Linked DNA regions of Homo sapiens: regions 1, 2, 3, 4 and 5 are each linked to region 6. The links are contacts of gene promoters, found by promoter capture Hi-C in blood cells and fetal thymus (Javierre and others, 2016). All regions are on one chromosome and are shown on one strand. The core of a region is centred on a gene start or on the middle of the fragment in contact, and the rest is flanking DNA. Distances in the headings are between cores, read along the strand shown. Region 1 overlaps TRA2A (transformer 2 alpha homolog). Region 2 has its middle 9.8 kb from the start of TRA2A. Region 3 overlaps KLHL7 (kelch like family member 7). Region 4 has its middle 9.1 kb from the start of IGF2BP3. Region 5 holds the start of LOC105375187 (a long non-coding RNA gene). Region 6 holds the start of OSBPL3 (oxysterol binding protein like 3).

Region 1 (4,327 bases), core at 967-3,466, 1.5 Mb after region 6:
ACATTGTGTACATGTATATAATAACCCTTTTCCTGATTAAAAGAATAGTACATGGTTATTGTGGTTATTCACAGTGTGTAAAATACAACTCTATTTTAACACAGAAAGACAATTCTTAACCAGCTTGTATTGGTTACACTATAACACTTTCTTAGTGTTTTAGTTAGTTCCCTCCTTTTAATTTTTGGCCATTTCCTTCAACCAACAGCAGGGTCATCTTGATAATAAAGAATAGTTTAAACAAGCAGGCCGGGTGCAGTGGCTCATGCCTGTAATCCCAGCACTTTGCGAGGCTGAGGCGGGTGGATCACTTGAGGTCAGGAGTTCGAGGCCAGCCTGGCCAATGTGGTGAAACCCCGTCTCTACTAAAATAAAATACAAAAGTTAGCCAGGTGCGATGGCGGGTGCCTGTAATCCCAGCTACCCAGGAAGCTGAGGCAGAATTGCTTGAACCCAGGAGTTGGAGGTTGCAATGAGAAGATTGTGCCACTGCACTCCAGCCTGGGTGACAGAAAAACCAAACAAGCAAATAAACATCAAAACAAAAACCTGTTAAAGCAGGTTGTGCTGTGAGAAGAACTTTTCTGCCTGGCTTCTGCTTTATAGCCTATAAGATAGACTGGAGGCCTATTTAAGACTTTTGTTAAAATTCATGATACGAGTTGAGTTATTAATCTGCCCATTTAAACCGGGCAGTGTATTTTTAATGGTTATTGGATGCAGGAGCCAGATTACTGAGGAAATGGTAGGATTCCTTGACTGGACAGCTTTAAGAACAAGTAGTCTAGTGAAACAGGGCAGATACCACCCATTCCCAGCAATCTTTTTTGTTTGCAATTTCAATTCATTTTCCAAATTGTGGATAGTTTTATGAATTTCTTTGAGAAAAAGTTGAAATTATTTCATAATGAAGACGAGTCAGAGAGAAAAGGATTAGCCTAGCATTTGTCCTCTTTATATAAAGGACTTCTTATAGCCTGATTCCTAATGCAGAGTTCAGTGAAAGTGACATTTATTTGGTAACAGCTTTTGAGAAATGTTACTTTATTTCTAAATAATTATATACTTGGCAGTTTATTCTTCCAGTTAAGTTTACTAATAGTTACTGATTTGTTAATATAAGTTTGTAAGTTGTTTTTGAAAGTTAAAATGAAGCTGGGTGTGGTGGCTCACACCTGTAATCCCAGCGCTTTGGGAGGCCAAGGCGGGCAGATCAAGGAGTCAGGAGATGGAGACCAGCCTGGCCAACATAGGGAAACCCTATCTCTACTAAAAACACAAAAATTAGCTGGGTGTGATGGCGTGCACCTGTAAGCTGAGCTACTCAGGAGGCTAAGGCAGGAGAATCGCTTGAATCCGGGAGGCGGAGGTTGCAGTGAGCTGAGATCAGGTGCCACTGTACTCCAGCCTGAGCTACAGAGCAAGACTCCATCTCAAAAAAAAAAAAAATAGTTAAAATCATAGTGACAACTTTGTAGCTAGGAGTTAGAGACAGCTAAGAGGACTGTTTTTAGCTTAGATGTTTCCATGAAGAAATTTGTGCAGACTGAGATTTCCTCTGAGATAAAAAGAAAGAAGGGCAGACAACAAAGGAGGTTAGGTATTTGTGACACCTTTGATAATAAAAAGCAAAGCTTCTTTTAAAATAAATCTGATGTTGGCCGGGCGCGGTGGCTCACACCTGTAATCCCAGCACTTTGGGAGGCTGAGGCGGGCAGATCACTAGAGGTCAGGAGTTTGAGACCAGCCTGGCCAACATGGGAAAACCCCATCTCTATTAAAAATACAAAAATTAGCCAGGCAAGGTGGTGCATGCCTGTAATCCCAGCTGCTCAGGAGGCTGAGGCAGGAGAATCACTTGAACCCAGGAGGTGGAGGTTGCAGTGAGCCTAGATCGCACCATTACACTCCAGCCTGGGTGACAGAATGAGACTCCTCCTTCTTAAAATAAATAAGCTAACATCTCTTAAAAAGACATTCTATCATACCATAATGCTTTGTTGCTACTCCAAAACTGGGATTTAAAATTGGAATTTTAAGATGTTACTGAATTATCTTGTTTACTTTAATAAAAGGTTTTTATTTCCATCCTAGTAAAATTAAAGAATTGTAGTGTTTTACAGAGCAAAGCCTCCTGTGTATGTTTGAGAAGGACTGTAGCAGCGTTCGTAGATAATAATCCAGCTATTGCTATTCAACAGTAGCATAAATGAATGTTATGTCACAGGGTCTGTTTTGTGGAAAGGAAAGCCAAAAGAGAAGAGGGGAAGATACTCTTATGAGTTTGATTAATGAACCAGTCTGTGAAACTTAAATTACAAGCAAATTAGCCATGCCTTTTTTTATAAGATACTGAATATGCTGCTTTCATAGTTTCAGTGAATGAAAAAGCCCAGATTGCTATGCCTGCTCCAGACATCTGTTGAGTGGTTTAGAGTATCTGAGATGCAGTGAAAGACTTGTAGGTAGCTAAATGGGAAAGGTTGGTATTGAGCTGAAAGGTAGCTGTGTATTTCAGTTTTGTTTTTATCTGAAAGAAAATGACCAGGTGGCATTTGTACAGTTCTTGATAAATAAGTCTTGACATTAAACTTGAAGCAAAGGAAAAGTTTTCAGAAAGCTGTTTGAGTTGTGTGATAGTCTTAAGGCATAAATAAATTGGTGTGAAATTACTTCTGTGAAATTGAGATAATTATTTACACTGATAATCAAGGCTTAACTGGACACAGAAACCAAGCTGTCCATCCTGTTTTGATCATAAGTGCCTCATATCTGTGCAGTTAAAAAAAACAAGCTTATGATCAGTAAGTTATTTTATTTGGAATGCTTTGATTTACACCCAATTTTTTCAGAAACCCATCACTTTTTGGATATAGAATATAGTCACTGAAGGGAGTACCAGTATACATAAATGCATAAATTATGTAAAAACTGAACATAATTCTAAAGAGATGGAATCAAAGATAAAGACTATGATATAAATTTTGTACCTTCTTGCACATTGTGGTATGTCGTGGATAATAGAGCATTTTAAAGTGATCTGGTTGCAAAAATGTGTATATCAGGAATTAATAAGCTAATGGGGAAATTTTAAGAATTTCATGCTTATTAGTTTTTTCGGTATGTTTGTCTTCAGAACATATTTTAAGTCAGAATGAGCAAAGATAGTAGTCAAAGTTGGGAGAAGGTGTAATTTTACTGATTTTTTTCTTTTTGACTTATTTGAACCTTGACATGTGCTATGGGTGAGTTTAGATAGGTGTGTACAAATATTTCAGCCTGGGATGCCTTGCTCTAACTATATCTTGATTTCTTAGCATGACTTAGTGAAAGCTTATTTTTAAGAATCTTCAGATTATAAAGTAGTGAAAATTTAACACTTAGGTGGGGGGAAATTATAGTTGTTAGATTTATATTTGAATTATATTAAAATTGCTCACATTTTAGGAACTAGAATGAAACATGGGAGGAGGGTGAAGAGTATGGTTTAAAAAGCATTTAGAGAAATTTAGTAAATTCTCTTTGTTAGAAACTAGAGTTTTGAACAATTTTAAAGACTATAAAATTGTTTTTTTTTTTTTTTTTTAAATAAACTAGTTACTTGCACTTTACCTGCTGGCTTTTCCATTTGGTAGATAACATTCTGAACTCCAGCAGAGTTTTATAATCCCCACGTGCTTAAATATACTAAATGTTCTTTTTCCATTAAGGTTAATGTTCGTGAAGAAATTGAAGAGTTTTTTCCAAGAATGTGGAAGATAAATCAAGATAAAAGAAGGCTAATGAAAAGTATTAAAGATCAGAAAATTAAAATTGAATGGGGGAAAAAATTGAACAGAAGATTGGTCAGATAGAAGCACTTGAATATTTTTTTAAGGCTATTTTGAATTGTTTGAATTGGGGAAGAATACACGAAGTATGAAAAATGAAAAACTCAATGAAGAATGAAGAGAAGTAGAAAGCAAGAGTGAAGTAGAATTAAAAGAATCTGGAAGAATGAATGGGTCCTAGGTTAAGTAAATGTATGGTTTATGTTCCAGTGTCTGTATGATCAAGTTGTAGATGAATTTGCATGATTACTTAGTTAATAGAGAATTGGTGATCTGGTTCAAGTAGGGAATTATTGAGGACAGTTAGCAGTATTAACAGTGGGTTATTATTGAGCTGAAATTTTTTCTGGAGGGTGTTGTCTAACCATTTGTTTTTCAGGAGCAATCAATATAAATAATTACGGTACTTTAAATGTTAGGTGTTAGGCATCTACATGACCAGTGCCATTTGTAATACTGTCTTCTTTGTTAGGAGTCTCGCTCTCAGTCAAAATCTC
Region 2 (4,198 bases), core at 984-3,483, 1.4 Mb after region 6:
GCAGGTGCCTGTAATCCCAGCTACTCCGGAGGCTGAGGCAGGAGAATCGCTTGAACCCAGGAGGCGGAGGTTGCAGTGAGCTGAGAGTGCACCACTGCACTCCAGCCTGGGCAACTGAGTAAGACCCAAAAGGCCATGCATTGGAAGCTTCTGGATAGCGTGTGAAGGTTCCTGGAGGGTGGTGCACCTGGAGAGGGCATAGAAGCTTCTAGCCCCTTCCCACATGTCCTATCCTATGTATCTTGTCATCTGTATCCTTTGTAATATCCTTTATAATAAACTGGTAAATGGGACCAGCTGCTAAGGTTGCAGTGAGCCGAGATCACGCCACTGCACTCCAGCCTGGACTACAAAGCGAGACCCTGTCTCAAAACAAAAACAAAATGTGGCCTTTTTTTTTTTTAACTTGAAGTTCTTGGCTCAAGCTTCATTGCTCCTTCAATTGTTCCTAATTTTTTAGAACTCCATCCTCCTAGATAGGGCCAGAGTCCTAGTTGTACAGGTGGGAGGAGCAGGTGCTACGCCCATCGTACTAACTGGTGGTGAGGCAGCACAATATGAAGTGGCCCACATTGTGTTTGGAGATGAAACTAGAGGGCCCTTGCTTATCCAGCTGGTCCCATTTACCAGCTTATTATAAAGGATATTACAGAGGATACAGATGACAAGATACATAGGATAAGACATGTGAGAAGGAGCTGGAAGCTTCTATGCCCTCTCCAGGTGCACCACCCTCCAGGAACCTTCACGCACTATCCAGAAGCTCCCAATGTATAGCCTTTTGTGTCTGGCTTCCTTCGCTTGGCATAATGTTTTCAAGGTTCATCCATGATGGACCATGTAACAGTATTTCATTCCTTTTTATGACTAAATAGTATTTCATTGTATGGACATACCACAGTTTTTTATCCATGCATCAACTGATAAACATTTGAAATATTTCAACTTTTTGGCTATCATGAACAATGCTGCTATATACATTTGCATACAAGTTTTCATGTGAACAAACATATGTTTCCCTTCGGTATATACCTAGGAATGGGATTGCTGGGTCATACAGTAATTCTCTGTTTAAGTTTTTGAGGAACTGCCCATCTGCTTTCCAGAGAAGGTGCACCAGTTTACATTCCCACTAGCAGTGTATGAAGATTCCAATTTCTCCATATCCTTTTCAATACCTGTCATTGATTGTTCTTTTTTCAACGTTATAGTAGCCATCTTAGTAGGTGTAAAGTGGTATCTCATTGTGGTTTTAATTTGCATTTCTCTAAGACTCATGGTGTTGAGCATCTTTTCATATGTTCATTTGCCATTTATATATCATCTTGCTTTTTTTTTTTTTTTAGAGACAGGGTCTCCTTCTGTCACCCAGGCTGGAGTGCAGTGCTGCCACTGTAGCTCACTGCAGCCTCCAATTCCTGGGCCCAAGCCATCCCCCTACCTCAGCCTCCCACAGTAGCTAGGATTATAGACCCACACCAACATACCCAGCTAATTACAAAAATATATATATATATAATTCTAGCACTTTGGGAGGCTGAGGTGGGAGGATTGCTTGAGGCCAGGAGTTGTAGGCTGCAGTGGGCTATGAGGTGACAGAGCAAGCCCCTGTGCCCCCAAAACACCAAAAAACAAAAACAAAACAAGAAACTAAGAAAAAAAAATTTTACAGCAACAAAAGCTAACAATTTTTTAAAATTAAATAAAAAATGAAAAAAAAAACCAACAATTAGAAAATGAACAAAGGACTTCAGTAGATTTCTCCCTACGGAAGAGATATAGCCTGGGTATGGTGGCTCATGACTGTAATCACAGCACTTTGGGAGGCGAAGATAGGAGGATCACTTCAGGCCAGAAGTTTGAGATTAGCCTGAGAAATATAGTAAGACCCTGTCTCTATAAAAAATAAAATAAATAATAATATAATAAATAATTAATAAGTAAATTTTTTAATAGAGAAGGGGTCTCACTATGTTGCCCAGGCTTGTTTTTGCTTTTCTTTTTTTGAGACGGAATCTTGCTCTGTCGCCCAGGCTGGAGTGCAGTGGCGCGATCAAGGCTCACTGCAGTCTCCGCCTCCCGGGTTCACGCCATTCTCCTGCTTCAGCCTCCTGAGTAGCTGGGACTACAGGTGCCCGCCACCATGCCCGGCTAATTTTTGTGTATTTTTAGTAGAGACAGGGTTTCACCATGTTAGCCAGGATGGTCTCGATCTCCTGACGTTGTGATCTGCCCGCCTCAGCCTCCCAAAGTGCTGGGATTACAGGCGTGAGCCACTGCGCCAAGCCGCTTGTTTTTTCTTAAACTGTAAGCGTTATTTATTTACTCTAAATACTAGACCCTTATTAGACATATGATTTCTAAATATTTCTCCTTTTCAGTGGATTGTTTTTTCTCTCTGTTGATATTATCCTTTAATGCACAAAAGTTGTAAATTTTGATGTTCTAATTTACCTATCTTCTCTTTGAATGTGGTTGATCTTTCTCTCTTTCAGTGTTGAGATCTAGTTCCTAAGAACTGGCTAAATGCTATGGGTTAATTTTGTTGTGTTCTACTCTGAGTGCTTGAGGTGATAAAATGTTTGTTGGTTGGTTGTTTTTTTTCTTTTAAGACAGTGTCTTGCTCTGTCACCCAGGCTGAAGTGCAGTGGCACAAATACTGCTCACTGCAGCCTTGACCTCCTGTGCTCAAGTGATCCTTCTGCCTCAGCCTCCTGTGTAGTGGGGACACAGGCATGCACCACCACACCTAGCTAATTTTTTAAATTTTTTAGAGACAGGGTCCCACTTTGTTGCCCAGGTCTCAAACTCCTGGGCTCAAGCAGTCCTCCCACCTCAGCTTTGCAAAGTGCTGAGATTACAGGCTTGAGGTACTGGGGAGGCCACAAAATATATTTTTGGCCGAGCACAACAGCTCATGCCTGTAATCTCAGCACTTTGAGAGGCCGAGGCCAGGGGTGGGTCACTAGAGGTCAGGAGTTTGACACCAGCCTGGCCAACATGGCGAAACCCTGTCTCTACCAAAAATACAAACATTAGTTGGGCATGGTGGCAGGCGCCTGTAATCCCAGCTACTCGGGAGGCTGAGGCACGAGAATAACTTGAACCCAGGAGGAGAAGTTGCAGTTAGCAGAGACTGTGCCACTGCACTCCAGCCTGGGAGACAGAGCCAGACTCTGTCTCAAAAAATAACAGTAATAATATTAAAAAGAAGAGATAGCTCATGCCTATAACCCTAGTGCTTTGGGCATTCCCACATCCACCACTTTGGGTTTAATAAATTTGCTGGAGCAGCTCACAAAACTCAAAGAAACATTACAAAATATATGGTATGGGGGAAGGGGTGTGGAGCTTCCATGCCCTCCCTGGGCAAGCCACCCTCCAGGAACCTCCAAGTATTAGCTATCTGAAAACTCTGTGAACCCAGTCCTCCTGGGTTTTTATGGACAATTATTTGGAAATGTGATTGGCCTCTCTGGAATGAGGGTCTTATGACCCACAATCAGAAAGGCAGGGGAATAGTATTGAGTCCTGCCTTGGGTCAAGTGAAAGGAGTAGAGGAGAAGGTCAAAGAGGCCTGAGGCCTGCAAGAAGCCTAACACACCTAACATTATAACAAAAGACTGTAACAAGGCCTATGGGGAGTTATCAGCCAGGAACCTGGACGAAAATGGGTACAAGAATATCATAACACCACAGTATGTAAGTGGAAAGGGACTCTAAGTGAAAATCCCTTTCAGTTATATCATCGAAAAGCTTCATATTCCACCTTTGGAGCTGTTTTACAAACACCTTATTCTGAAATTGGCAATTAAAGGAAATAATTAAGCATTTATCATTTCCAGTAGGAACTATATTTTGCATGTGATCCTAGCTAAAAGGCTGAGAAGCGATGGAACTGTATTTCAAAATAGTCAAATAACCTGTAGTTGATGGAGAAAGCTCTTTAAAAAGAAAAGAAAAGAAAAAAAAACACTATTGAGCAGAGAGAGGAAGTGGGCAAGAAACAAAACAAAGAAAAACGAAACTATTTACTAGAAGATTGCCAGCTGGTGAATATAGGGACAAGATAGAGTTGGAAAGTCCACATTTTGAATAGCATGGCTGATTCAGGCAAAGATTTTTCAATGGATGCCGAACCCACTGAATGGTTGATGGGCAAATGGATATTCAGGTGGTGTGGAGGTATCTCTCTGCT
Region 3 (4,530 bases), core at 1,980-4,479, 1.9 Mb after region 6:
AGGGCAAATCACCTAACTTGACTTATGAAGCTATGCATGGGCAGGTCTCTAGCTACTTCGCCAGTTTCATCTAGAACCATCGTCCGCCTTATGTTCTGTGCTCCAATTACACTGACCTTTAATCAGTCTCGAACTTGCCATTCTATAATAAAGTAGGTCTCCAACTCAGAGCCTCTGAATATGTTGTTCCCTCTACTTGAGTCACTCTTCCCTTTTCTCTTTACCTAGTTAACACCTACTCTTATTTCAGCTCTCAATGACCATTTCCTTAGAGAAAACTTCCTGATGGTCAAATTACCCACCCATATGCCCTCGTTGTACCATGTTATTCTCCTGTGTAATACCTACCACTGTTGCAATATTACATTTATTTGTGTGATTACTTGACTAATGTCTTGCTTTTCTACTAGCCTATAAACCACAAGAGGATTGGGACTGTCAGGGTTTGCTTATCATTGCAACCCCAGAATCTAGCAAAATGTTTAGCATACAGTGGGTTGTCAATAAGTATTCATTTCAATGAATGAACTTGGAAGCCAAATTGAACTAGAGTAATAAATAAATAGTAAGTAAGAAAATGTAGTGAACCGCATGTTCTCACTCATAGGTGGGACTTGAACAATGAGAACACACGGACACAGGAAGGGGAACATCACACTTTGGGGACTGTTGTGGGGTGGGGGGAGGGGGGAGGGATAGCATTAGGAGATATACCTAATACTAAATGACGAGTTAATGGGTGCAGCACACCAATATGGCACATGTATACATATGTAACAAACCTGCACATTGTGCACATGTACCCTAAAACTTAAAGTATAATAATAATAAAATTAAAAAAAAAACAAAAGAAAATGTAGTGAATTTACTCAGCTTTTCATCTTAATGGGGGGAGAGAAGTATTTAGAGGGGTATGTTGAGATTAAGAATGGGTTTGCTGGTTGTTTGGTTCAAAAGCTGGAGAGGTTAAAACAAGCTTAAGTGCTAATAGCAAGAATCCAGCAAAGAAGAAAAGTTAAAGATGCTCAACAAAGATGGAATAACCAACAGTATAATACTTCTGAGAAGCCCAGCATCCAGGAAGCCAAAGCCTAGGTAGAAGTACTGGCCTTAGAAAAAGCAGCAGCATCTCCATTGTAGCAGGATAAGAAGAGAAAAGGGAAAGTGTCAAAATAGGTTTATAGATCTGGTGGTAGAAAGTGAAAAGGTAGACAGTTCTAGACTAATGACTTCTATTTATCTATGGTGTCAAAAGAAGGTGATCTGCTGAAAGTGAGGATCTAGAGAAAGGACTCAGATTGGAGGAAAATAGTAAAACAAAAAGATTGCTCACGGGCACTGATAGTCTAGTGGAAATTAGTGGCCAAGCACTTACTTGGCAGAAGTTGCCCAGTGAGATATTTTCCAGCTGTGCTTGGAGCCTTGCACAAAGAAGGTAATCAGTCATCAATACTCAAGTTTGCCAGATGGACATGAAAAAGGGACAGAGGGTCAAGAAAACTGGGACACTGGAGAGACAGTGGAGTGACAATAGCTTCTAAGCTGGACAGACAGAAAAAGAAAACAGAAAACAGTAAAGTACAGGAAAAAGAATAAGAAGGTCTGGATGACTGGAATTGTCAATGAAAGTTAAGAGAATTAAATGAGACAAAGCATGTAAAACACTCTGCAGAGTGGCTGGAACAGTTATAAGTGCTCAAGAAGTCTTATTAATATCAAGGGTTTAACACTGAAGGTTTAGATTATTCACAAGAGAACCTAAAGATAATGACATGTAGTAATTTACAGTCAGACAGATGAGAATACAGAAGCAAAGTCATTTTAGCCGGAAGGTGAGCCCAGTTAACTGCCCAGTATCTAATTGTGAAATCAGCTTTGTAGTTCTCTCACATAACTCTCAATAAGGACTTTAACATAAGCTTTCAAGTTCCAGTTATGCTTTAATTCATTTAATGTGGAGAAACTATAAACTATGGTGGTACTCAGGAAGGTCTTAAAACATCTTCCTCCAATGTTAAGAGACTCCTGGACTTCATTAACACAAAAGAAGAGTATGGCAACAGCAATGTGCATGTGCAATAGTGACTGTGACCCAGACCTGCCTTGTAAAGCCTCTATTTTACATATCAGGTAATAACATTAATCTAAGCAAAAAGTTAAAGAAATAAATGAAAAGGTACTCAATCCAATTAAATAAGATGCTCCTATACACCCAGTTAGAATGGCTAAAGTGATAAGACTGACAACATCAAGTGATGGCAGGGATGCGGAGCAAAAACCTCTCTCACACACAACTGGCAGAAGCGTAACATGGTACAATCACTTTGGAAAACTACACGACGATATCTTTTAAAGCTGAAGGTGGTATAGCTTATGACTCAAAAATTCCTGTTTGGTATTTCCCAACACAAATATTAATACATACATATGCATACCAAAAGGCATGTACAAAGTGTACAAAAATGTTCAAAGTAGTACTAGTCTTAATAGTTCCAAACTAGAAATAACCCAAATGTTCATAATGATAGAATGGATAAATTGTGCTATATTCATTCAATGGGATACTATATACCACAAGGATGAAGTAGCGCTACACACAGCACAGATGAATCTCACAAACAATGTTGGCTTTAAGAAAACAAAACACAAGAGTTTATGCCATATGATTACATTTATATAAGTTCAAACACAGGAAAAACCCACTTTTTGCCGATGTGCTGCAGACTTTCATGAATGCACCACACACCAAAGACAGAACAAAGAGCTCCTCTTAATAACAGGGGTGCATAGTGCCCTTAGAAGATGGCATGGCATGGTATTTATCAATGGTTGCTTCTGCTCTAACTTCGATGGTTACAGAGTTAGAATAGTTGTTACTACTGTGGGGTTGGTGACTGAGAAGGGCATAAGGGGGGACCTCTGGTGTACTGGTCATGTTCTCGTCTTGTTGGTGGGATGTGCACTTTGTAATAATTGAGCTATACATTTATGATTTGTGCCCTCTTATATGTATCCCATACTTCACTGGAGAGTTTACTTAGAAACAAAAGGCTAGAAATGACAAAAACAATGTAGGAAAAGGCTTTAGAAGAAGCCGAGGCTGCTGGCTCTGCAGAATCCCCTTTTGCCTCTATGTATAGAATCGGCCACTATACTACAGAGAGATGGAATGACCCAAATCATGTTATCTAAAATAACAAAATGAAATAATGAGAGAGCAGGATTGGAACTGAGGTATGCTAATCTCACAATGTTCTCAAATTCTTGAAGGAATGTTTCTGGATGTTTACAGAGGGGTCCTTGTCATCTAGGCACTCATTATCCTGATCCTTAAAGCAATGAGATTGTAAAGGGATGTAAAAGTAGTCATAACACAAAAATATTTACTAAAGAACAAGAGCACTTATAAAGTTGGTCCTCACTCAAACATTCCTACTCTGGCTCAGACCAGCCACTGTTTCTGCCAATTCCCATCAACTGCCCTTGTCAGTCATTCTCGGTCAATTGTTTCCTGTGTTATGATGTTAAACAGGACAATACAATATAACCATAATGTAAATCAATTGCGAAGTGAAACTGCACATCTTGCAAAAGATGCATGATTCCATGAAGTTGATAAAAGTGCTATTGGAGAACTGTTTGAATCACATGCCAAACCACTGACAACAGGAGAACCTGGCAGATTAAGGTCAGTTAATCATTGTGGAGGGGACCCCTGGTTGTTCACCAGGTAACCATTTTTTCCTTCCTACTCAGTAACAGAACCCTGATTTTTCAGTAATTGTACTTCTATTGTAACGGTAAATAAGTGATGTTAATATACTCCAAAGCTAAGAAATGTGAGTCACTTTTTAAATCCAAAGAGCTAAACGGACAGTCTCAGATAATCCTCTGCTCCTCAAGTAAATATTTGCTGCTGCAATCCAGTTTCACCCTATTTAGGGATTAAGGCAATGCTTTACAATGCTATGATCCACGAATGAAAACATATATTCGAGGGAGTGGGAGGGAACCTAATGAGTCTTCAACGAGTTTAAGCCCTGGTTAACTATGTTCAACTACCATTACAGGCAGGCAATAGCTAAATGCACCAGCAATTTGAAGTCTGTGGTATTGTAGATACAAAAAGGTTTACATGAAAGGAACATGAATTTGAAAATAGATACATGAAAGTCAGTTACATAAATTAACGAATTCAGGCATTCACAGTACTTCAGCACAAAGGCCAGGCCAGGAAAGATTTAAAAGCATTCCCACAGACTGCACTGGTGCACTGTAGCAGGAGCTGGTGAACAAAGACAAAATCCCAGCAGTCAGCGTTTGCTTATAGAAACCAGAAGTTAATATCTTCATAAAAATCTTAAATTCCTCTACTGTTGCCCATATTCCCAGCAGAACCACCAGACAAAGCAAACTAGGTTTTGCAGTTACACATAACTCACATCCTGCTTTGTCCCCTTGAAACAGGATCCCAGTCAACAAAACCCAAACATTCCCACAAATCTACTTAGATGTGTATTATCTATAAAT
Region 4 (3,980 bases), core at 209-2,708, 1.5 Mb after region 6:
ACATTCAGCGAAACAGAGTACCAACACCTTCTTAGAACATGGAAATAAAAAATAACCCCATCAGAGCTACCTCGCCAAGGAGCATGATGAAAGTCCAAAATAGCACCATTCATCAGTGTCTCAGGTCCTGTGGCAGCATCTCGGTCACTTACCACAAGGAAACGAGTTTCAAACTATGTCTATACATCAAGAGTACATGGATAAAATATAGAGATATACAGACAATTGATAAACATAAACTACTAGGTTTGTTACATCTAAATGAAGAAAAAGGGGGGGACTCTCAGCCTCTGCAAGAAGCGGTCGGGAGCTGTGTGAGTGAAAAGGCAGGAGTGCACTGGTTGTGTGAACGCGGTGGGAATTTGAGTTGTGGAAGACATTGTTGTAGCGAACCAGGCCTGAAGGCCCACCTGTAAGGGTTGTAAACGTGGATTCACAGTGTGAAATTCTGAGCATTTTCACTTGGGTCAGAATGATTAAAAACTGGTTTGATGATACCTATTTGTCCACTGTAAATTCTCTAAAGCAAGGCTCAGAGTCCCATAGTTTCCTCTTATACTTAATGATTTACACAGAAAAAAATCCCATATATGGTACCATGACCTCATGAATACCCATACACCGTATGTAATACAAATGGAGGTGTTACGATTAAAAAAAGTGGAGGTAACTGATTCTTGGGGAGCGGAGTTCACTGCTGCCCAGTAGAGTCAGGGAGGCAGCGTTTGTCTCATCGTTCTTCTTGTAGTTCACTTCCTTTGGGACAGGAAGTCTTCCCTTAGGAAGCCTTCCCTCCATGTCCTTGTTTGGAAATGGTTCTTGACTGACCCAGAGAAAGAGTTCTGGGTAATAAACCATTTTGAGAATCTTAGTCTTGGCTTCTATTCTCCCTCTCTTCAGTCCAGGGAGACCAACAGACAAAAGCCCCGCTCCCTGTTCACTCTCCTCTCTACACCTGAAACACAAATGTGGTTGAAAAAGGGCAACATGCTAGAAAAACAGCTTGGGGGGGAGGGCGAGACGGGGTTTCAACATGTTGGCCAGGCTGGTCTCGAACTCCTGACCTCAGGCGATCTGACTGCCTCGGCCTCCCACAGTGCTGGGATTACAGGCGTGAGCCACTGCGCCTGGCTGTCAGTTAGCTTTTAATAGGTTATATTCCAAGCTTTCATGGAAAAGTTAGAAAAGGACCATGTTTTAATCCACAGATATCTGATTTTTATAAAACAACTTTAACAGTCTTCAGTTTAACTTTCTTTTTTTCTTTTTTGGAGATGGAGTCTCGCTCTGTTGCCCAGGCTGGAGTGCAGTGGCACCAACATGGCTCACTGCAACTTCTGCTTCCCAGGTTCAAGCAATTCTCCTGCCTCAGCCTCCCAAGTAGCTGGGACTACAGGTGCGTGCCACCACACCCAGCTGATTTTTATATTTTTAGTAGAGACGGGGTTTCACCATATTGGCCAGGCTGGTCTCGATCTCCTGACCTTGTGATCCGCCTGCCTCAGCCTCCCAAAGTGCTTGGATTACAGGCATGAGTCACTGCGCCCGGCTCAGTTTAACTTTCAAGTTTTTGAATTTACTCAAAAGAAACATGGGAAAAAACCTTTAAAAACAAAATAATTGTATTTTATATTATATAGTTACATTAAACAAAACCACAAATAGATTTTTATCATAATTAGTAATAACTGCATATTAACAATACTTTCAAGTTTTTACTTTGTTACAGGTTTTAAAGACTATAAGCTTGATCACTGGATTTGGTTGTAAGAAGATACTCTAAATTTTAGCTTAATCCAGAGTTCCATAAATCTGATGTTTTTATTTTTTTTGCTTATATATCCTCTCTGTGCTTCACTGTAATATATTTATTTCTATTAATTGCCACATCCAGAGAGTAACTCAGCTTATTACTATGTTAGCAGAACATTGCCATAGGTAAAGAAAGAAGATAAATGCATCACTTATTTTAACAAAGATAAACTTTTTTTTGTTTTTGTTTTGGTTTGTTTAAAAAGCAATGGGCATTCTTCATCCATTTAGAGGCTCAAAGTGTTAAAATGTTTGGTTATCCTAATACAATATGACTTCCCCTCACTTTGCAATGAAATAATTTAAGGATATTTAATAAACAAGGAAATAATTATTTTAAAGAATAACAGGAAGGGGCTATCATTTGACTGAAATAATATTCTTCATTTATAGCAACTTAAAACTTTGTTGGTAGTCATTCCTGAAGCAACATTACAGTTTAATCTCAGCTCTCCTAACCCCCAATAAAGACAGTAAATAACAGGACCCACACTTCACTTAAATCTGAGTTTTCTCTCCTTATTTAAGTTTCAAAAACCATTGTTGTTTTCACGACAAGAACAGACCAGTATCTATCTTTAGCTCTTTTTTTATAGAGACATTTTTTCAAATAACACTGCTTATTTTGATTAATGTATCTATTATGGATAATGTACACAAATAGAAGTGGTAGAACAATCCAACAGAAAGGATTTGTGATAACTTCATATTTTCGAGATAAATTTAACTTCAAAATATGTGACCCGTATTATTTCTACCAATTTTTAAACTGCTTACGTTCATGTTTTAATAATGTTGATGGATGTTTTATATGTATAATACTAACTACATATATTTTAAATAGAAAACGAGTTATAGAAAGACATAAAATGGAAAACACATTTATATGATGTAAGTTCTAATGGTGATATACTAGTAGCATCGTAATTTCAGTTCAATCTATACTGTTTTGTTAGTCTTATCTCCCCAGCTTTAAAGACATCATACTGAAGTATTCTGATGGTTAAGAAAACACTTTAAAAGTAGTGCTTGCCTTGCTTGTTTTAACCTGCAACCTCAGAATTTGAACACAAGTTCTATCTTGCTTTTCTCCTTCACTAATCTCTCTAAAGGGCTTCTCAGCAGAAATATGTGCATATATTCATATGTCCAAGTGCACACACTGAGTTCATTCCATATCCGACAAAACTGCCCTCAACTGGAAGATCTGTTGTTGTTGAGGGAACAGAGTAATGTTACCTTTCGCCCTATTGTCTATTTCATTGAATTAAAACATCTACTCGACTTTTTTTTTGCTTAATTAATATTTAAAACAAAATTCAATTTAATCTTTTTAAAAAAGTCACTATATTGACGAGATTAAAATAAAACTTGAATATATCACTATGGTTGCAGAAATAAGCACTTACAGTGTACTACACTACAACTTTTGATGCTTCAGTTTATTTTCTATTTGGCTTTTTACAGATATTTATTTAAATGAAAAGCAAAGATATTATTTGAATCTTGGTAGCAAAGAAATACAAAAGCAAAGAAATTACCATCAGATATATGGTAACAGAGTCAAGGGACAAAATTCTAGGCAATTTTGAACAAACGAAAACAAAACATGGTAATGTCATTCTGTACTTAATTGTCTAATAACAAAATGTTCACCAGATGACAGAAACAGTATCTATTTCTGTTATAACAAAAACTGATTTTTTTGGCTTTTATGAATTGTTACTTCGTTGGTATCTTTTTTATGAATTAGATTTCTAATAGCTGGATTAGATTTAGGCTACTTATAAAAAAGGGACCATGCAGTTATTTCAGCTTAATGGATGATTAAAACACAAAATATTTCATATTTATTTATATTAAGTTGTACACAATTTAAAAAGTCTTTATTCAAATCTTATAAGTAAGATTTAGTTACTTTTAAATTATTCTTCAAGTCTTGGAAAGTGCTAGGAAAAAGATTTTAAGTTACAAATAATATATGAGTAGTTTACCCTACAAATAAAAAAGTATTAAAAAACAGAAAAACTGCTTCAATGAATGACACAAGACCCCTCCCCCACCCACCAAAACAAAATCAATCAAGAATTGGAAATTATCAATCAGATCCAATTATTGGTATTAAATTAAACCTCAGTTCAAACAAAATTTTGCCTTTAAGAAGGCAC
Region 5 (4,105 bases), core at 607-3,106, 1.4 Mb after region 6:
CCCAAAGGAAGGGACAAAGAGCCTTCCCGGCCGCGGCCGGAGGCTGCCGGCCCGTTCCTAAGCCGGGTTTCCGCAGCAGCGGCCCTAGCGGGGCGGGGACCGGGGACGGGGGCGCGGCGGGGGAGGAGCGGCCGGCTAGGCTGAGGGGCGCGCGAGAGGTGCGGGCCCGGCTGGCGGACTCGCCCCTTACTCATTACCTGGCCGTGGGCTTCTCGTCACGGTCGCCGCCGCCACGGAGCTTCTGAGCCGGGGCGACGCAGCGAGAGCTAATAAGCGGGCGTCAGCTGCGTCCCACACTGGCGAAGCAGCCTCCAGATCGAGCTGGAGAAACGCCGGTGGGTGGGAGTTGGGACGAGGTTTGTTCCCAGCTTGTGGAGATTTTACTCCGCTCGTCCCTCGCACTCGGCTTCCGCTCCGCCTCCCTGCCGGCCCTTCCCGCACTCGGGGGCCAGCCGCCCGCGGCGCGCGGCATTGTGGGGGATGTAGTCCCAGAATGAGGAAGCGGCGGCACGTGCTTCCAGCCGCCCTGCACCTACCCTGGGTCAGAACGACGCAGCTGCGCGGCAACCAGAGAGGGCGGCGGGGTCTTCTGTGTTGGAAGATGAGCCCGCCAGAGGCATACCCTCGGCCTTAACTCGCTGCAGGCGCTGGAAGAAGGGCTCTGGCGTCTTGTTCCCGACCCTCCGGTGAGGAACCAACCTCCTAATACTATTGACCTGAGGCTGGGAAAGCTTAGTGATGATTAAGTGTGCTACAGATGAGACTACCCATTATTGAAGCCAAAGGTCCTTAGCCAGTGGAGTGAGGCAAGAAAAATAAAAGGATTGAAGATTAAATAGGAAGAAACAAAATTATTTTTTCATAGATTATGTAATTATGTACGTGGAGGCCGGGCGCCGTTGGCTCATGCCTGTAATCCCAGCAGTTTGTGAGGCCAAGACGGGAGGATCACCTGAGGTCGGGAATTCGAGACCAGCCTGGCCAACATGGTGAAACCCCGTCTCTACTACAGATACGAACTTAGCAGGGCGAGGTGGCGGACGCCTGTAATTCCAGCCTCTCGGGGAGCTGAGGCGGGAGAATTGCTTGAACCCAGGAGGCGGAGGTTGCAGTGAGCTGATATCGCGCCACTGCACTCCAGCCTGGGCAACAAGAGCAGAACTCCGTCTCAAAAAAAAAAAAAAATTGTTTGTGGCACTTCAAAACAATCTGCAGATAAACTGTTAACAATAAAAGTTTTTAACAAGGTTAATAGATACAAAAATCATATTTTAAAAAATCAATATTTATTTATATATGCTAGTAAAAAAGATAATTTTTTTAAAGATACCATTTCCAACAGCTCCAAACAAATATCAAGTACCTAGGAATAAATCGATCAAAGAAATGCAAAACCTGCCTGAAGAAAACATTGGAAGACACTGAAGAAGACCTAAATAAAGATGTAACATGTTCATAAATTGGAAGAGTCAATACTGAAAAATGCCAAGTCTCTCCAAACCTACCTACAGAGCCAGTGCAATTCCCAACAAAATCTCAATAAATTTCTGTGTATGTGTGAGAAACTTGACAAGCTAATTCAAAATGTTATGGAAGAGCAAAGACAAGCATTCATGAGGAAGAGGAGGAAGAAAAAAAAAGAAGAGGAGAAGGAGTGGGAGGAGGAAAACTTGTGCTACCGGATAACAAGCTTTATTATAGACTAGGCACGGTGGCCCATGCCTATGATCTCAGCACTTCGGGAGGCTGAGGCAAGTGGATTGCTTGAGCCTGGAGTTCAAGACCAGCCTGGGCAACATGGCAAAACCCCATCTGTACCCCCCAAAAAAATACCAAAGTCAGCCAGTTGTGGTGGCATGCACCTATAGTCCCTGCTACTCAAGAGGCTGGGGGCAGGAGGATCACTTTGAGCCCAGGAGGTGGAGTCTGCAGTGAGCCATAATTGTGCCACTGCACTCCAGCCTGGGCGACAGCAAGCCTCTTCCTCAAAAACAAAACAAAACAAAACAAAAACAAGCTTTATTTTAAAGCTGTCAACCTAAATAATAGGACCTCTAAAAGAAAAAGACACTCACTTAAGAATAGGGCATTGCAATGGGAATATACATGCCACAGTAAACTCTGTGTGTATTCAGGGAGGTAAAGGAAGACAAAGAAAAAATGAGGAGGATTAAATAATTGCTTTGAAATTATTATGCTTGGCTACAAGGATCAATAATAAGGGTGACTCCAGTTCTAGGTTCAACAGGCAGTTGCTGGGCAGATGTCCACACAGAAGTACTTGTTGTGTAAGGTTGCAGTGGTCTTTATGTAAGGTTGTGGTTTTTGCAGAGTCTTTTGCAATAGTTTAGTTATCAGGTATACACATGTGAAAGCCTTCCCTTCTTAGCCTTCCCCAGCTCTGTCAGGGTGTTTTGTTTTTAACACAAGTGACTCCATTTTGATTCTGACAATTTTCACATTTCCCTTTTTTGATCAAGAGCTTTCTCAGAATGCATCACTGATCAGTCATTTTGTAGTTACATTCTGATGTCCCTGGAGGCCAGGTTGAACCTGTCCTGGTTGCTGGTTTCTTCCCTCATTGTGGGGAGTGATTGGTGATGAGTCAGTGTCAAAAACCATTAAGCCATATTTGGGCAATAAGGGAGGTTTGAAGAAAATGGCTCTCAGGCTAAGTCTACCTGGAGTTTATTATTGAGGTCTATAGTCTTTGGCTGTCATCTCAAAGTGCTGGCCCAGCATTATTTTGTTAAGACCTATACTTCTGCAAAAATTTAACAAGTAACAGATACAAAGTTTAAAAAAGGAAAAATATAAAGTAAAATGATAATCTCAGTTTGCTTAATAGTTTTGAGCCATGAACCTAGGCTTAACCAGCTGAATAAATGAAATGACCATGAAGGATTAAGTGAGACCTGTTGTAACGTTTCATAAACCCATCAGTTTTTTAAGTGTGCATGAGAATGGGCCATCAAATATAGCTGGTTGGAGTCCCAGAAAACTTGGCATGCCTTAATGTTTGAAAATCCCAGGCAGAGTACAGTGGCTTACATTTATAATCTTGACACTTTGGGAGGCTAAGGCAGGAGGATCTCTTGAGGCCAGGAGTTTGAGACAGCCTGAGCAACATAGTGAAACACCGTCTCTTCAAAACAAAACAAAACAAAAAAAGTAGCTGGGCATGGTGGCGTGTACCTGTAGTCCTAGCTACTTGAGCCTAGGGGTTCAAGGCTGCAATGATCTATGATTGCATCACTGAACTCCAGCCAGGGAGACAGAGTGAGACTCTGTTTCTTAAAAAAAAAAAGAAAGAAAGAAAAATTAAGAAAACCCCATTACATTACTTATCAATCTCTCAAGAGCAAAGAAAATTATCAATCTTGTCAGAATGTCATAAGTTTGGACCAATGTATTTGATGGTAGCAACCACTCTAGTGGCTTTTACTTAGCCATCCTGTGTCCATCATTTAGAATGTGTCCATTCTAAAAGAATGTTTATTTTTGCTCTCAGAAGATTTTCAGAAACAAGCAAGGGAAAAGAGCAACATAAAGGGAAAAGAACAACAAAAAAGTTGCATGTAACCAAAATAAAACCAAGAAAGTTCATAAAAATTTTAACCCAGGCATGTGGATCAGACAAAATATTAAAGTAGGCACACAGACCAAAAGTAAATTCATCAGAAAAGATATGCCTCACAGACAGAATGGAAATTCTGTAGAAATCAGAAAAGACTTCCCAGAAAATACAAAAAGTCTTTGTTTAATCCCAGGAGGGATGTAAAGTCCTTTATTTAGGGCTGCCTTATTCAAATCAGACCCCAAATAAAGTCAAGAGCTTCTACCATAAAGAAGGGGGCGTGGTCTTAGAGAAGACTCATCAGGGCAGAAAAAGTGAGCCATGGAAGCAGAGAACTGAAATGAGTACTGCACCAGATTCAAGAACTGTCAGTTCCTTGTGATAGTGATCTTTTTTCAGGTCCTGTTTCTGGCACCATTTGTGTCAACCTAAACAACAGAGAGAGGCTCTCTAAAAGAAAAATATGTTTATTTGGGAATAGGGCATTGCAATGGGAATACACATGCCACAGTAAACTATGTGTGTATT
Region 6 (4,519 bases), core at 1,748-4,247:
TCCATAAGCATTTCCCTATATCGCCTCCTGCAGGCACGTACTATGTGTTATGCCAGTGGTTCTCATCAGGGGGGATTTTGCCCTCCAGAGGACTTCTGGCAAAAGTCTGGAGATTTTTTGTTGTTACAACTGGGGAGGACAGGGTGTTCCTTGAATCTAGTAGGTGGAGGCCAGAGATGCTGCTAAATGCACAAGACAGCACCCCCCCAACCTTTACCTCCAGCAGGAAAGAATTATCTCCCTAAAATGTTAATAGAGCTGAGGTTGAGAACTCTGCACTAGACTATGCGGAAATTGTTTGCAAATGGATGATCAAACTCTTCCTGTAGTCCAGCAGCTACATAAATATCTCCATTTTACAGACAAGGAAAGGTGATTGCAGAATCAGGTGGTCATCACAAGACAGGAACTGAGGTAGTCTGATTCTAGAGGCCCTCAGTTTCCTTTACTATCAAAACATGCAAACTCAAGTAGCACCCGCTTACCTATTACCAATTTCAGAAGCTAAGACCACTGTGTCACATGTGAAAAATTCCCACTGTGGTGGGCTTGTCTCCAAAGAGAAAAATTATTTGTTCAACAGTTCAAAGAAGAGGGTCTCTAGGAACTCTTAATATGGAACCACTGGTCTTTATTAGACATTCAAATCGTTATTTTAAAATAAGACGCTGAGGAGAAAGCTGATTTTAGAACATTAACAAACTTTTTCAAGAATAATTAGCTCTGCGTGGGTTTCAACTTTTATTTTTATTTTTTCCTTTTGATTTTAGGAGCTGGAGAGCCTGGAAGTTTATTTAGGAGTAGAAGAGGAAATGAAACTATGAAAAGCCACAGTACGATTCCTCCTTTACTTGGAGACAAGGCACAATGTGAATAATTCTCTCATCCTGTCCAATTAACTGCCTCAAGTACACACACACACACACACACACACACACACACACACACACACACAGAGAGAGAGAGAGAGAGAGAGAATGTACACTCTATTATTATTTGATTAGGAAGACATTAATGAAAAAGCTCGGAACGGGATGCTAAACAACAAAGCCCTATGCAAATCACTTCCTTTCGGATTGAAGGCTTGTCTCCTACAGAAAAACCAATGCTAAAGAAACAGGCGGAGAGGCTGAAGGTGGAGAGCAAAAGAAAAAGAAAGAAAATAGCTTGAACGAGGAAAGGGACTGGCAGGAGGAGGACAGAGCAAGCCTCTCTCAGAGAGAAATTACAGAAAGACGGAAGGAGGTTTGGGAAAACCCAGTCTAAGCTGCTCCGACGGCGGGGCTGGGCGTGGGCAAGGTGCCTCCTTGGACGGTCCGCGCGCCTGCCAGACGCGTCCTTCCACTACCCGTCCAGCCACCTGGCGCTGGTCGGGCTTTGCGAGGTGGTTTAGGAACCGCGGAGTCATTCGATTTGAAATCTTCTCCAATAAGCTTCTCCGTGTGCCGACGTGGGCAGCATGACAGTGGATTTGCTCGGCAGCATCTCTGGCGCCTCCCGCCCTCGCCCGCCGCCTGCCAGATCCGAAACAGACAGTCCCAGACATTTCGCGAGGGGGATGGTTCCAGAAAGCGAAGATCTGAGCGTGGTGAATGAAATGTGAACAGAATAGCTCCGGAAAGAGTCTCAGAAACCTTGAATTGGGGTCAGTTTGGAGACTGAAAATGCGTCGAGCGCTGCAGGTGGTGGTTGGCAGGGGGATTTAACACTGTGGAGCCCTTACTCCGTCCCAGGCGCTGAGCCCAGCGAGCCACGCGCGGTGCCCAGCTCGGTGAGGTCGGTTAGTTGGGTCTTCAGGGAGGCTAAATACCCTGTATTTGCTATTCCCTTCGCCTGGAACGCTCTGTGCGAGACTGGGTGTGGCAGCTCCTTTCCCAGGCTCAGGAATCTGGGTAAAAGCCACCCTCGCCTAGAGGCCCTCAGGGTGAGCGCCCCATCACGCGCTAAACCACTTTCGAAAGTGGACTTGGCCCTCCTCTCAGTACTAACAGTCTGTCAGCCTTTTATTTTTTGCATAGATATGTATTTTCTCTTCTTTATTGTCTGTCTTTCCACAAAAAATGCAAGCCCCGTGAGTACTGGAGCCTGGTGCGCCTTTCTCACAGTTGCAAGCTCGCAACTGCTCCTGGCATATACTAGGTGCTCACTAAATGCTCATGCCCTTCCCACCCGCCACCTGCGGCACTCGACACATTTGCAGTCTGCAAACTGACCCCAAACCATCAGCTGCTTGCATTCGTCCTAGGATCAAAGAAGGCCATTGGGCTAGTGGGAAGTCAAGTCGGGTGGACTTTTCCGTCTTTCAGGGAGATTTAATAGTAACGACGGTGCTCTCCCCACCTCCTACCCCCTTGCACATAAACTGCACAGAACAAAATCACCCCGGCACGAATCTGCACGACTGCCTCTGGAGGTAGGGTCACGGTCTCCGAGCCCCGGGTCTCACACTGATGCTGTCCTTTGTCATCTCGTGCCTAGAGTGCTGCCTCCCTATGTATTTCCTCTGTTCTCGACTCCTCTGCCACAGTCTGACTTTCTCGGGAGGTCGAGTTCTCCTAGCCTGTGCGACCGCAAGGGTCCCCTGGAGCCTTCTCCGTAAACCTGCCCCTCCCGCGCTGCCCTCACTTTTTCCTCCTTCCCTGGCCCGGAAAAGCCACTAGAGGAACATTTACCGAACGCCTACCGCGCGCAGGCACCGAGCTGGGCCACCGGGAGCCCCACCCAGTGCCTCGCCGCAGGACTCGCCTCCCTCCGCCCTCCCAACCCATCCGGAATCCGGGGTCCCTAGTTCCCCCGCCGCGTCATGGAATCCGCTGGCTTCTTCCGAGGACATCGCCCCACCTCCTTCCCGAAAGGCGACTTCTGATTGGTGAGATTGTGCATCACTCTGCCGCCCTCCCGCCCCCTCGGGGCCCCGCCCCTGGGCCTCTCAGGCCCCTCCCCTGCGCTCCCGCCCTTGCGCGGCTCCTCGGGCTAATCGCCGGGCGGCGCGCGCCGAGAAGTTCTGGGCAAAGTACTCAGAACTGGCCGCGTGCTGGTGGCGCCCGCCAGCCGGCCCGGGAGAGGGGACTTGAGCGCTTCGCGGCCGGTGCGCAGCGCGGCTCCGGCCCCGCAGTCTGTCTGCAAGTGGCCATCCCCGCCCCCGACTCCTGCGGCCGGTGCGGGAGCTGTCAGCTGCACGTTGCGGGGGTACCGGAGAAGCCGGGGTTGCCTTCTCCCGGTTCTGTGCGCTAACCCCGGAGCCCGGCCCCGGGGAACTAGGGAGCGTCTCCGGCTGCACAGCGCTCAGGTGAGTGGCGGGGCGCCCGCCTAAATGGGGCCTGGGTGTCGGGGGGCCTGGCGGCGGCGCGGGCTCGGAAGGGCTGCTGTTTGCGGGGCGCCGCGGTTCTCTGCCGGACCGGGGTCTGTCCGAGTCGCCCGGGGAGGCTCCGGCCCTGGGGCAGACCCAAGCCTGGGAGCTTGGGTGCCGGCTGCAGCTCCCGGGGAAGGAGGACCCGGGTCTCACCCACCCCAGGACACCTTCCCTCGAGGGACGGCTCAGAGGATTGACCGCCAGGAGGAGCCGAGCGCAGGGGCCGCGGCGCAGGTGCGGGAGGACGCGGCGCGCGGAGCTGTCCTGGGCAGCGGGGAGGCGCTACGCCGGGGCTAGAGGCTCAGGAAGCCTGGTAAATTGGGGCGAGCGCGAAGCTTTACCACATCCGCGGGATGGGGCGCGCCGGAGAGACTGAGACAACGCTCGCGGGGCAGGCGCTCCGCTCGCCCGCCTTCCCAACCCCGGCTTGCTCAGCTCCCCGGTGCTGGGCTGGAGGCCCAGGGCACATTCCTTTCTTGTCTGAATTTACATATTCATCAGCTTTCTGGCCCCTTCTGGAATTTTTTTTTTTTGTTAGTTTCCAATTACTACTGTTCAGATCACCTTCAGGCTCACCCTAACTCTCGTCTCAGTGTCTCTCACATTGGTCCTTTCCTGGAGGCCCTGCAGCGTCTTAGTTCAGGGTCTTAGGGACTTATGCACTCTGTCTGAACGTTGTCTACAGTTGGGTTTTCCTACCTCTGTCTCTGTTTATTCCGTGGTCAGGTAAATTCTTTAAGTACTGTCATCATAAGCCAGAAACTCCCAGGCAGCCTCTTAGCGCTGCCCAGCTTCCCGGGGAGCGTTTGTGGCCTCTGGAGTCGCTGATGGGCACTGTCGCAGGTCGTCCAGATACTTCTTAAGCAGGGGCGCGCCGCCCTTCCTTCGGCAACGCAACTTGCTTGCTGCCTTCTGCACACTTGTGCTTGTCCTTCTCCGCCTCACAAGCCACCAGTCTCCTCAGTCGGGACTCTTGGAGCTGAGGGGACTGTGAAGTTGTCGGTTTCCATGTGTCTGCGTACTGCGCAGAGGTGCTTGAGACCCCCTAGGTGTTGCTCTGACCCTCAGAGTTTGAGTATTGGGATGAGGGCATTTAGAAATATTTTAAACTACAGCTGCAAAAGAGATACTTCCACAGATGGGTGAAAGCGAAGGCCTGGCTTCTCA

The links. The method cuts DNA at HindIII sites, captures the fragments that hold promoters and counts their contacts. A CHiCAGO score of 5 or more calls a contact.
Region 1: a contact is called between a fragment that was not itself captured here and the fragment with the promoter of OSBPL3 in region 6, in 1 of 17 cell types (non-activated CD4 T cells). The highest score is 5.1, in non-activated CD4 T cells.
Region 2: a contact is called between a fragment that was not itself captured here and the fragment with the promoter of OSBPL3 in region 6, in 1 of 17 cell types (non-activated CD4 T cells). The highest score is 5.1, in non-activated CD4 T cells.
Region 3: a contact is called between a fragment that was not itself captured here and the fragment with the promoter of OSBPL3 in region 6, in 1 of 17 cell types (fetal thymus). The highest score is 5.3, in fetal thymus.
Region 4: a contact is called between a fragment that was not itself captured here and the fragment with the promoter of OSBPL3 in region 6, in 1 of 17 cell types (activated CD4 T cells). The highest score is 7.6, in activated CD4 T cells.
Region 5: a fragment that was not itself captured here is called in contact with the fragment with the promoter of OSBPL3 in region 6 in 2 of 17 cell types (non-activated CD4 T cells and fetal thymus); the score reaches 7.6 in non-activated CD4 T cells.

What each region holds. Positions count from the first base shown.
Region 1 is chr7:23,521,816-23,526,142 of GRCh38, reverse strand. TRA2A (transformer 2 alpha homolog) reads left to right here. Exons shown (of 8, transcript NM_013293.5): 2 at 4,303-4,327. Among named protein-coding and RNA genes, the nearest start is that of TRA2A, 8.0 kb to the left of the region's middle. The HindIII fragment of the contact is 1,160 bases long and covers 1,637-2,796 here.
Region 2 is chr7:23,539,639-23,543,836 of GRCh38, reverse strand. No RefSeq gene overlaps it. Among named protein-coding and RNA genes, the nearest start is that of TRA2A, 9.8 kb to the right of the region's middle. RefSeq lists an enhancer at 3,933-4,122. The HindIII fragment of the contact is 3,051 bases long and covers 708-3,758 here.
Region 3 is chr7:23,106,921-23,111,450 of GRCh38, reverse strand. All of the region lies in intron 1 of KLHL7 (kelch like family member 7), which reads right to left. Among named protein-coding and RNA genes, the nearest start is that of KLHL7, 3.4 kb to the right of the region's middle. RefSeq lists an enhancer at 4,505-4,530. The HindIII fragment of the contact is 2,615 bases long and covers 1,922-4,530 here.
Region 4 is chr7:23,477,631-23,481,610 of GRCh38, reverse strand. It overlaps the pseudogene LOC389473. Among named protein-coding and RNA genes, the nearest start is that of IGF2BP3, 9.1 kb to the right of the region's middle. The HindIII fragment of the contact is 581 bases long and covers 1,168-1,748 here.
Region 5 is chr7:23,593,698-23,597,802 of GRCh38, reverse strand. It overlaps LOC105375187 (a long non-coding RNA gene), which reads left to right and starts at 478. Exons shown (of 2, transcript XR_927098.2): 1 at 478-686. It overlaps CCDC126 (coiled-coil domain containing 126), which reads right to left and starts at 421. Exons shown (of 4, transcript NM_138771.4): 1 at 198-421. RefSeq lists a silencer at 1-179 and an enhancer at 4,012-4,061. The HindIII fragment of the contact is 327 bases long and covers 1,693-2,019 here.
Region 6 is chr7:24,978,656-24,983,174 of GRCh38, reverse strand. It overlaps OSBPL3 (oxysterol binding protein like 3), which reads left to right and starts at 2,997. Exons shown (of 23, transcript NM_015550.4): 1 at 2,997-3,289. RefSeq lists an enhancer at 1,528-1,697 and silencers at 2,838-3,347, 3,398-3,607. The HindIII fragment of the contact is 2,254 bases long and covers 1,436-3,689 here.